3 separate regions of the Homo sapiens genome follow, and all the other regions are linked to region 2. The links are contacts of gene promoters, found by promoter capture Hi-C in blood cells and fetal thymus (Javierre and others, 2016). All regions are on one chromosome and are shown on one strand. The core of a region is centred on a gene start or on the middle of the fragment in contact, and the rest is flanking DNA. Distances in the headings are between cores, read along the strand shown. Region 1 overlaps BIRC6 (baculoviral IAP repeat containing 6). Region 2 holds the start of BIRC6 (baculoviral IAP repeat containing 6). Region 3 overlaps NLRC4 (NLR family CARD domain containing 4).

The links. The method cuts DNA at HindIII sites, captures the fragments that hold promoters and counts their contacts. A CHiCAGO score of 5 or more calls a contact.
Region 1: a contact is called between a fragment that was not itself captured here and the fragment with the promoter of BIRC6 in region 2, in 1 of 17 cell types (M2 macrophages). The highest score is 5.1, in M2 macrophages.
Region 3: a contact is called between a fragment that was not itself captured here and the fragment with the promoter of BIRC6 in region 2, in 2 of 17 cell types (neutrophils and M2 macrophages). The highest score is 6.3, in neutrophils.

Annotation. Positions count from the first base shown.
Region 1 is chr2:32,445,750-32,448,943 of GRCh38, forward strand. BIRC6 (baculoviral IAP repeat containing 6) reads left to right here. Exons shown (of 74, transcript NM_016252.4): 22 at 3,046-3,179. Among named protein-coding and RNA genes, the nearest start is that of MIR558, 85 kb to the right of the region's middle. RefSeq lists an enhancer at 1,516-2,093. The HindIII fragment of the contact is 4,466 bases long and covers 1-3,194 here.
Region 2 is chr2:32,355,749-32,358,906 of GRCh38, forward strand. It overlaps BIRC6 (baculoviral IAP repeat containing 6), which reads left to right and starts at 1,275. Exons shown (of 74, transcript NM_016252.4): 1 at 1,275-1,738. The coding sequence starts at 1,414. RefSeq lists enhancers at 946-1,458, 1,973-2,485 and silencers at 962-1,331, 1,492-1,721. The HindIII fragment of the contact is 6,861 bases long and covers 766-3,158 here.
Region 3 is chr2:32,241,521-32,244,774 of GRCh38, forward strand. The region is part of intron 4 of NLRC4 (NLR family CARD domain containing 4); the gene reads right to left. Among named protein-coding and RNA genes, the nearest start is that of NLRC4, 22 kb to the right of the region's middle. The HindIII fragment of the contact is 8,504 bases long and covers 1-3,254 here.

The DNA of each region.
Region 1 (3,194 bases), core at 154-2,653, 90 kb after region 2:
ATATGCTGATAACAGTCTTTTTCTTACAAAAATGTTTAGTTTATACCTTACTTTTTCCATACGATAATAGCCTGAGGTTTTACTTTCTTCTGTTTTGTCAGAAATTACTCTTTTTTTTTTTTATCGAGATGGAGTTTTGTTCTTGTTGCCCAGGCTGGAGTGCAATGGTGTGATCTCAGCTCACCACAACCTCCATCTCCCGGGTTCAAGCGATTCTCCTGCCTCAGCCTCCCGAGTAGCTGGGATTACAGGCATGCACCACAGGCCTGGCTAATTTTGTATGTTTAGTAGAGACGGGGTTTCTTCATGTTGGTCAGGCTGTTCGCAAACTCCCAACCTCAGTTGATCCGCCCGCCTCAGCCTCCCAAAGTGCTGGGATTACAGGCATGAGCCACCGTGCCCGGCCAGAAATTACTCTTTAACAGTTTGATAAATCCTTATGATGGTTATTCAGAGGGCTAATTTTATTTAATAATGAAAAGTGGTATGCCCTGCTAATGGAAGAAGAATGTAATGTGTCTGTTTCTCTGTGCACTTTATAGGTGGAATTATGTGAGTCACTTATTGTCCCATAACTAGTATTCTTCTACCTGCTACTTGTATTTCAAAACTTCTAACGTGATGAATTAAGCAATAGCAAAAGGTTAGATTTAAGTTCTTGCCTGATTGTCTACGTTTGAAGTAAGGCGTTCCTTTATTTAGAGCAGTGATTTTATAATTTCCTAGGTTAGATGTTCTGATTTTGATGACATTTTACTCAAAGCCTTTGTACTTGAGGCTATGTCGTAATGATTCACGGGAGAGAATGGTGCCTGATACCCCTCGCTTCAATCTGCAGGTGGCAGTCTTAGTACCTTAGTTGCCAGCTTATTGGAATCACATTTGTTGAGTCTCTGGACAGTGTCTTTTAGAGTATAGATTGCAGGGAACATAGTTGAGATTCACTGAATTTGATGGGTCAAATCTAGTCAGCATCTCCCTCTGCGCTGTTTTTTTTTTTTTTTTTTTTTTTTTTTTTTTTTATTGATCATTCTTGGGTGTTTCTCGCAGAAGGGGATTTGGCAGGGTCATAGGACAATAGTGGAGGGAAGGTCAGCAGATAAACAAGTGAACAAAGGTCTCTGGTTTTCCTAGGCAGAGGACCCTGCGGCCTTCCGCAGTGTTTGTGTCCCTGGGTACTTAAGATTAGGGAGTGGTGATGACTCTTAACGAGCATGCTGCCTTCAAGCATCTGTTTAACAAAGCACATCTTGCACCGCCCTTAATCCATTTAACCCTGAGTGGACACAGCACATGTTTCAGAGAGCACAGGGTTGGGGATAAGGTCACAGATCAACAGGATCCCAAGGCAGGAGAATTTTTCTTAGTACAGAACAAAATGAAAAGTCTCCCATGTCTACCTCTATCCACACAGACCCGGCAACCATCCGATTTCTCAATTTTTTCCCCACCCTTCCCGCCTTTCTATTCCACAAAACCGCCATTGTCATCATGGCCCATCCCCAATGAGCCGCTGGGCACACCTCCCAGACGGGGTCGTGGCCGGGCAGAGGGGCTCCTCACTTCCCAGTAGGGGCGGCCGGGCAGAAGCGCCCCTCACCTCCCGGATGGGGCGGCTGGCCGGGCGGGGGGCTGATCCCCCCACCTCCCTCCCGGACGGGGCGGCTGGCCGGGCGGGGGGCTGACCCCCCACCTCCCTCCCGGACTGGGCGGCTGGCCGGGCGGGGGGCTGATCCCCCCACCTCCCTCCCGGACGGGGCGGCTGGCCGGGCAGAGGGGTCCTCACTTCCCAGTAGGGGCGGCCGGGCAGAGGCGCCCCTCACCTCCCGGACGGGGCGGCTGGCCAGGCGGGGGGCTGATCCCCCCACCTCCCTCCCGGACGGCGCGGCTGGCCGGGCAGGGGGCTGACCCCCCCTCCCCCCTCCCGGACTGGGCGGCTGGCCGGGCGGGGGGCTGACCCCCCCCACCTCCCTCCTGGTCGGGGCGACTGGCCGGGCAGAGGGGCTCTTCACTTCCCAGTAGGGGCGGCCGGGCATAGGAGCCCCTCACCTCCCGGACGGGGCCGCTCGCCGGGCGGGCCCCCCTATCCCCCCACCTCCCTCCCGGACGGGGTCGCTGCCGGGCGGAGACGCTCCTCACTTCCCAGACGGGGTGGCTGCTGGACGGAGGGGCTCCTCACTTCTCAGACGGGGCGGTTGCCAGGCAGAGGGTTTCCTCACTTCTCAGACGGGGCGGCCGGGCAGAGGCGCTCCTCACATCCCAGACAGGGCGGCGGGGCAGAGGTGCTCCCCACCTCTCAGACGATGGGCGGCCGGGCAAAGACGCTCCTCACTTCCTAAATGGGATGGCGGCGGGGAATAGGCGCTCCTCGCTTCCTAGATGGGATGGCGGCCGGGCAAAAACGCTCCTCACTTTCCAGACTGGGCAGCCAGGCAGAGGGGCTCCTCATATCCCAGACGATGGGCGGCCAGGCAGAGACGCTCCTCACTTCCCAGACGGGGTGGCGGCCGGGCAGAGGCTGCAATCTCGGCTCTTTGGGAGGCCAAGGCAGGCGGCTGGGAGGTGGTTGTAGCGAGCCGAGATCACGCCACTGCACTCCAGCCTTGGCACCATTGAGCACTGAGTGAACGAGACTCCGTCTGCAATCCCGGCACCTCGGGAGGCCGAGGCTGGCGGATCACTCGCGGTTAGGAGCTGGAGACCAGCCCGGCCAACACAGCAAAACCCCGTCTCCACCAAAAAAAACCGAAAACCAGTCAGGCGTGGCGACGCGCGCCTGCAATGGCAGGCACTCGGCAGGCTGAGGCAGGAGAATCAGGCAGGGAGGTTGCAGTGAGCCGAGATCGCAGCAGTACAGTCCAGCTTCGGCTCGGCATCAGAGGGAGACCGTGGAAGGGGACCGTGGAGAGGGGAGAGGGGAGAGGGGAGAGGGGAGAGGGAGAGCCCTCTGCGCTGTTAGTCAGACTGCTTTTAAAACTAAGTAAAGGTAATTTGTTAATTAGATGGCTGAAAGGAAAATTGTTAGTGCATTATTTTATTTTTCAGATATGGATTATATAGCTCACCATTTGATCCAGTCCTCTTTGATTTGGAGATGAGTGGCTCTTCTTGTAAAAATGTTTATAACAGCAGCATTGGTGTCCAGTCAGATGAAATTGATTTATCAGATGTCCTTTCAGGTAGTGATTTCTTTT
Region 2 (3,158 bases), core at 25-2,524:
GAGAGGAATACAGTCAAATCTCTAAGTGTTTCAGATGTAGCCTGATGGCTAATAGTTTAAGATGTAGTTCAGGTAATCCATGAAGATTTCCTGAAGGAAGTTCGCATGAATGTGAGAGGGCAATTAACTTTTATAATTTTTATTGAGCACGTAGTATATACTTGTCAGATGCTCTTCTACACATTTTACAAATGATTCTTAATCCTCACAACAGATCTTTGATTAGGTTTTTAAGGAAAACTAGTTCTTTCCAAAATAACCTAATGATCACAAAACATATAGAACATACAACTCTGCATCTTGACTATGGTGCGTAGGTCTACATGTGATAAAATGACATTGAACTATACACACATCATACAACTATCAAATCCCTCCTTTTGAGATTGTACTAGAATTATGTAATATGCAACCATTGGGGGAAACTGGGTAAAGAGTAAATTGGATCTCTCTGTACTATCTTTGAGTAGTGTTTAGGTATTTTATAAAAATAATGTCCTACAGTTTGGGTTTGTCAAATGGTTTTCTCATAGTTAGATAGGGGTTATGGCTTTTGGAGAGAAAGACCACAGAGGTCTGTAGTATATTTTCAACTGTAATCTATTTCAAAATAAAAAGTTTTAAAAAAATTCTCCAAGGGGGGATGATTAGTAAATTGATTAGTCCTTTCTAGACCTCCAACACACCCCACCACACACTCACACAGACCCACACTCCTATTAATTCCGGTAACTCGGGTTGTTTGGAATGTGGATAGAGAAACTAAGCTTAACTATGCGCTTCCAGCACCTCGTATCTGGTACTTCTGTTCAACAGAAAGCCTTGGGAATGGGGAGGGCAGGCGTGGTAAAAGGTACAGGTTTGGGAAGGTCGCTCGGTTCCTTCCAATCCAAACGAGAGGCTTCTGATTGTTTATTCTCACACCAGAGCCGTGACCGAGACCCAGAGGTCCGCTTCCGGCCACGGCCGAACAGCTGCACCGTGCGTACCGGGAACGGTCAAGGCGCAGCTGGAACCGCTGCAAAAGGCCTCCGGGCGTACCGGACAGGTCGCAAGGGCGGGGGTCCCCACCTAGCGGAAATGCACGGAGGCCAACCCCTCCCCCTGCCCCCGCGAGGAGCGGGGCGGACTCGGCAGCCGCCACTCCCCAGGCTCACAGGAAGAAACTGGGACGCTGCGGACGCGGAACTGGCCAGACCCGCGGCGCGTGGCACGCGCGAGCCCTCCCGCGCATGCTCCACCCGCCGGCCTCCAGCCCGCGCCCCGGGCCCCGCCTCCCTCCCTGCTTCTCCCCCTCTCCCGTCAGCCTCCCTCCGAGTTTGGCCCCTCCGGCCGGGCGATCGACGTTCCGCGTGCGTGCGGGCGCCTGACTTCACTTCCGGCTAACGCGCTCGGCTTGCCCCCTGGCCCCGGATGGTGACTGGTGGTGGTGCTGCACCTCCCGGGACTGTCACTGAGCCGCTTCCCAGTGTGATTGTGCTGAGCGCAGGCCGGAAGATGGCGGCTGCGGCTGCGGCGGCCTCGGGCCCCGGCTGCTCCTCGGCGGCGGGGGCGGGGGCGGCCGGGGTCTCAGAGTGGCTGGTGCTGCGGGACGGCTGCATGCACTGCGACGCCGACGGGCTGCACAGCCTGTCCTACCACCCTGCGCTCAACGCCATCCTGGCCGTCACTAGCCGCGGGACCATCAAAGTCATCGACGGCACCTCGGGGGCCACACTGCAGGCCTCCGCGCTCAGTGGTGAGTCTTCCGCACGCCGGGCGGGCGCGAAGCCGGGGAAAGAAGCCGTCCAGCCCCGGGGCTCGGCCTCGCGACTCGGGGAAGCGAGATGGCGAGAGGGCAGGGCTGGGGGTTCGGGCCCAGCCGTGAAGGGAGGCCCGGAAGCTGATGGAGGGGGACCTTAGGACTTGGCTTTTTCAGCGGCTGCAGTTGGGAGGAAAGACCGGCGAGTCAGGGAGTGGTGGGAGGGGAGTTGCCTTTCGGGCCTGGAGCGTCCGGTCTGGCTTGGTCCTCCGCGAGAGGTGAGGAGACCTTGGAGCTTGGCACCGGAGGAAGCGAGGCCCGGGTAGGCCCTGGAGAGGCTGTCGGTCCTGCGTCCGGTTAGATGAGAGCGAAAGGCTGGAAGGGTTGACCCCGGGCGGAGAGGCTGGTGGCCGGAGGCGAGGGGCGGGGAGCGTCTGAGCCGGCAACCAAGCCCTCCCTTGTGGGAGAGGAGCCGGCAGTCTGCTGTTCTCAGGTCCCGCAGTGCGGGGGACAGACCGCGGGCTGTGCGCCCAGCGTGGGGGTGGGGGTGGGGTGGGGGTGGGGTGGGTCGTGGTGGGGGTGGGGAGGGAAGTAGGCGGGCCAGCTGCCTGAACTGCTTGGTCGACGACTGTAGGACTCTGCGGACGCCGAAGACGACTAGACCTGGTCCCCTTGCTCGGGGCTTCCAACTTCTACGCCCCAGTGACGAGAAAGTCAGGACCTGTGGTGTATGAAATAGATTCCTTTGGGTTTGTAACTTCAGGCTGTCTCTACTTGTTTTCCCACAGCGAGCCGAAAATTAGGATTTGAAGGTGTGTCTGAGTCTCACCATTGGAGGAGAGCACTTCTGGGTGGCGTAAACCTTGGTCCAGGGACGGGACTTTCAGATGCGTGAGGTGTATGCTCAGTGGACGGACTGGAGTGGTTTTGGAATGGCCCTGGCTGAGTTAGATTTGGCGGAGATGACATTTCATTTGTGGTTAAATGATGGGTGGCTTAATTTGGATGTTGTAGGTTTAGATTGAAAAGTTAGTGTATGAGTGAATCGGACTCCTGCATAGAGATGTAATGTATACAACTGTCTGCGTTTAGCCAAGTGGAAGTAGTTATGTGGTCAACCAATTCACTTGTATTTTAACGTAGACGAACAAGGAAAAGTTTACTATGTGAGTAATAAGGCATTTGTAAGAGTAAATGGCAATTTAGGGATGCAAACGTGAAATTAGACATGTTAATTATTGTTGATGTGAGAGTTGTGAAAGAATTGGATTATGTATAGTTTCAGGATATAAACTTGGAACATATCTAAGAGAAAGTTTTGGGAGGTAGGTTTGTAATTTTTTCTTTTCTTGGCTTAGGTAAATGATGGGGTGGCCCAGATGTAGCAGTGAACAGTTACTGCAACTTGGACATAATG
Region 3 (3,254 bases), core at 261-2,760, 110 kb before region 2:
CACCTGCCACCACGCCCGGCTAATTTTTTTTGTATTTTTAGTAGAGACGGGGTTTCACCATGTTAGCCAGGATGGTCTCAATCTCCTGACCTCGTGATCCGCCTGCCTCGGCCTCCCGAAGTGCTGGGATTACAGGCGTGAGCCACTGCGCCTGGCCGATAACAGGGAAATTTCTAAACACTTGGAAATTAAACAACACATTTTTAAATAATCATGCATTAAAGAAGAAGTCTCATGGAAACTTTGATAATATTTTGAAAAATATAAAAATAAAAACAAAACTTCAAAATCTGCAGCTCTCTCCTCACAAAGGGGTGAAAAGAAAAAAAAATCTGCAGCTAACACAGTGCTTACAGGGACATTTACAGTATTGCATACTTATATTAGAAATGAGGAAAGGCCTCAAATCAACAACCTAGGCATACTACTTAAGAAATTACAGAAAAGAGAGCAAAATAAATGAAAGAAGAAAGAAAATAATAAAGATAAGGGTGCAAATCAAAGTTATTATGCCTTTATTATACAAATTAAAAACAGAGGCAAGGTCTCACTATGTTGCCCAGGCTGGTCTCGGACTCCTGAGCACAAGTGATCCTTTGGCCTCAGCCTCCCAAAGTGCTAGGATTACAGGCGTGAGCCACCATGCCCAGCCCAGAAATCAAAATTATAAACAGGTAAACAATAGAAAAAAATCAATGAAGCTAAAAGTTGGATCTTTGAAAAGATCAATAAAATTTAAAAATTTCTACCAAGACTGACAAAGAAAAAGAAGACAAAAATTACCAATATCAGAAACAAAAAAGGGGATATCACTACACACACTGCAGATATTAAAAGGACAATTAGAGAATAATATAAACAAATCTATGCACATAAATTTGACAACATATATGAAATTGACCAATTTTTTGAAAACCACAAACTACCAACACTCATGTGATACGGAGTAGGTAACCGGAATAACCTTATAGCTATTAAAGAAATTGAATTTGTTATCTAAAATTTCCCGGAAAAGACATCTGTAGGCACAGATATGTTCACTTGCAAATTCTGCCACACATTTTCATTTTTTTCCTTCTATCAACTGTCTTCATATCTACCACACATTTAAAGAAGAAATAACACCAATTCTACACAGTCACTTCCAGAAAATAGAAGTACAAAGAATAATTCCCAACTCATTTTATGAAGCCATCATTAACTTGATATGAAAACCAGAAAAAGACGTAGAAGAAAAACTTTTAGGCCAGGCACAGTGGCTCACTCCTATAATCCCCGTGCTTTGGGGGGCAGAGGTAGGAGGATCACTTGAGGCCAGGAGTTTGAGACCAGCCTGGGCAATATATCCAGACCCTATCCCTACAAAATATTTTTTAAATTACCCAGGTGTGGTGGCAGGTGTGAGTAGTCCTGGCTACTCAGGAGGCTGAGGCAAGAGAATCGCTTGAGCCCAGGAGTTCAAGATTGCAATGAAGTGTGATGACACCACTGCACTCCAGCCTTGGTGACAGAATGAGACAATGTCTTTAATGAAAGAAAGAGAGAGAGAGAGAGAATAGAGAAAGAAAGGAGGGAGGGAAGGACGGAAAAGAAAAGAAAGAAAATTGAGGCTGGGCGAGGTGGCTCACACCTGTAATCCCAGCACTTTGGGAGGGCGAGGCAGGCAAATCACGAGGTCAGGAGTTTGACACCAGCCTGGCCAACATGGTGAAACTCCGTCTCTACTAAAAATACAAAAAATCAGCTGGGTGTAGTGGCAGGCGCCTGTAATCCCAGCTAGTCCAGAGGCTGAGGCAGGAGAATCGCTTGAACCCAGGAGGCAGAGGTTGCAGTGAGCTGAGATCGCACCACTGCACTCCAGCCCTGGTGACAGAGTGAGACCCCATCTCGAAAAGAAAGAAAGAAAATTAAACTTTAGACCAATATCATTCATGAATACAGAATCAAAAATCTTCAACAAAATAGAAAATGGAATTCAGTCATGCATAAAAGAATATTACGGCAGGCGTGGTGGCTCACACTTGTAATCCCAGCACTTTGGGAGGCCGAGGCAGGTGGATCACAAGGTCAGGAGTTTGAGACCAGCCTGGCCAACATGGTGAAACCCTGTCTCTACTAAAAATACAAAAATTAGCTGGGCGTGGTGGCGCGCCTGTAGTCCCAGCTACTTGGGAGGCTGAGGCAGGAGAATTGCTTGAACCCAGGAGGCGGCGGTTGCAGTGAGCCGAGATCGCATCATTGCACTCAGCCTGGTGACACAGCAAGATTCCATCTCAAAAAAAAAAAAAAAAAGAATATTACACCACCTCCAAATGGGCTTCATATAGGGAATGCAGGATGCTCAATATGTGGAAATCAATCCATATAATTCATTATATTGGCAGTCTAAAAGTAAAACTACGTGATCCCATAAATTGATGCAGAAAACACATGTGACATAATCCAACATCCAGGCTAGGTGGCTCACGCCTGTAATCCCAGCACTTCGGGAGGCCCAGGCGGGAAAATCTCTTGAGCACAGGAGTCCAAGACCAGCCTGGGCAACATAGCGAGAACTCGTCTCTACAAAAAATTTAAAAATTAACCAGATGTGATAGTTCACACTTATGGTCCCAGCTAGTCAGGAGGCTGAGGTGGGTGGATCTGTTGAGCCCAGGAAGTCAAGGCTACAGTGAGCTATGATCACGCCACTGCACTCCAGCCTGGGTGACAGAACAAGACCCTGCCTCAAAAATAATCTAAAAATAATTTAATAAAAACAATCCAACATCCATCCATGTAAAATGACATGATCATATAAATGGATACAGAAAACATCTTTAGCACAATCCAACACCTATTCATGACCAAAAAAAAAAAATTCTCAGCAACTTGATAAAAGACACCTACAAGAAAACTACATTTAACATTATACTTAAAGGTGAAAGTCTGAATGCTTTCTCCCTAAGGTCAGGAACAAGGCAAGATGTTAATTCATGTCACTATTCAACATTGTACTACAAGTCCTAGTTAGTGAAATAAGGCAAAAAAAAAAAATAAATAAAAGGAATACAGATTGGAAGGGAAGAATTTAAAATCATTCTTTTCGAAGATAACATGATTGTCTATGATAAAAATGTCAAGGAATCTACAACACCCCCTTCTGCAAACCCCACAAAAAAAACCCTTCTAAAACTGGCTGGGTGCAGTGGCTCATACATATAATCCTAGCAGTTTGCGAGACTGATGGGGAGGATCACTTGAGCCCAGGAGTT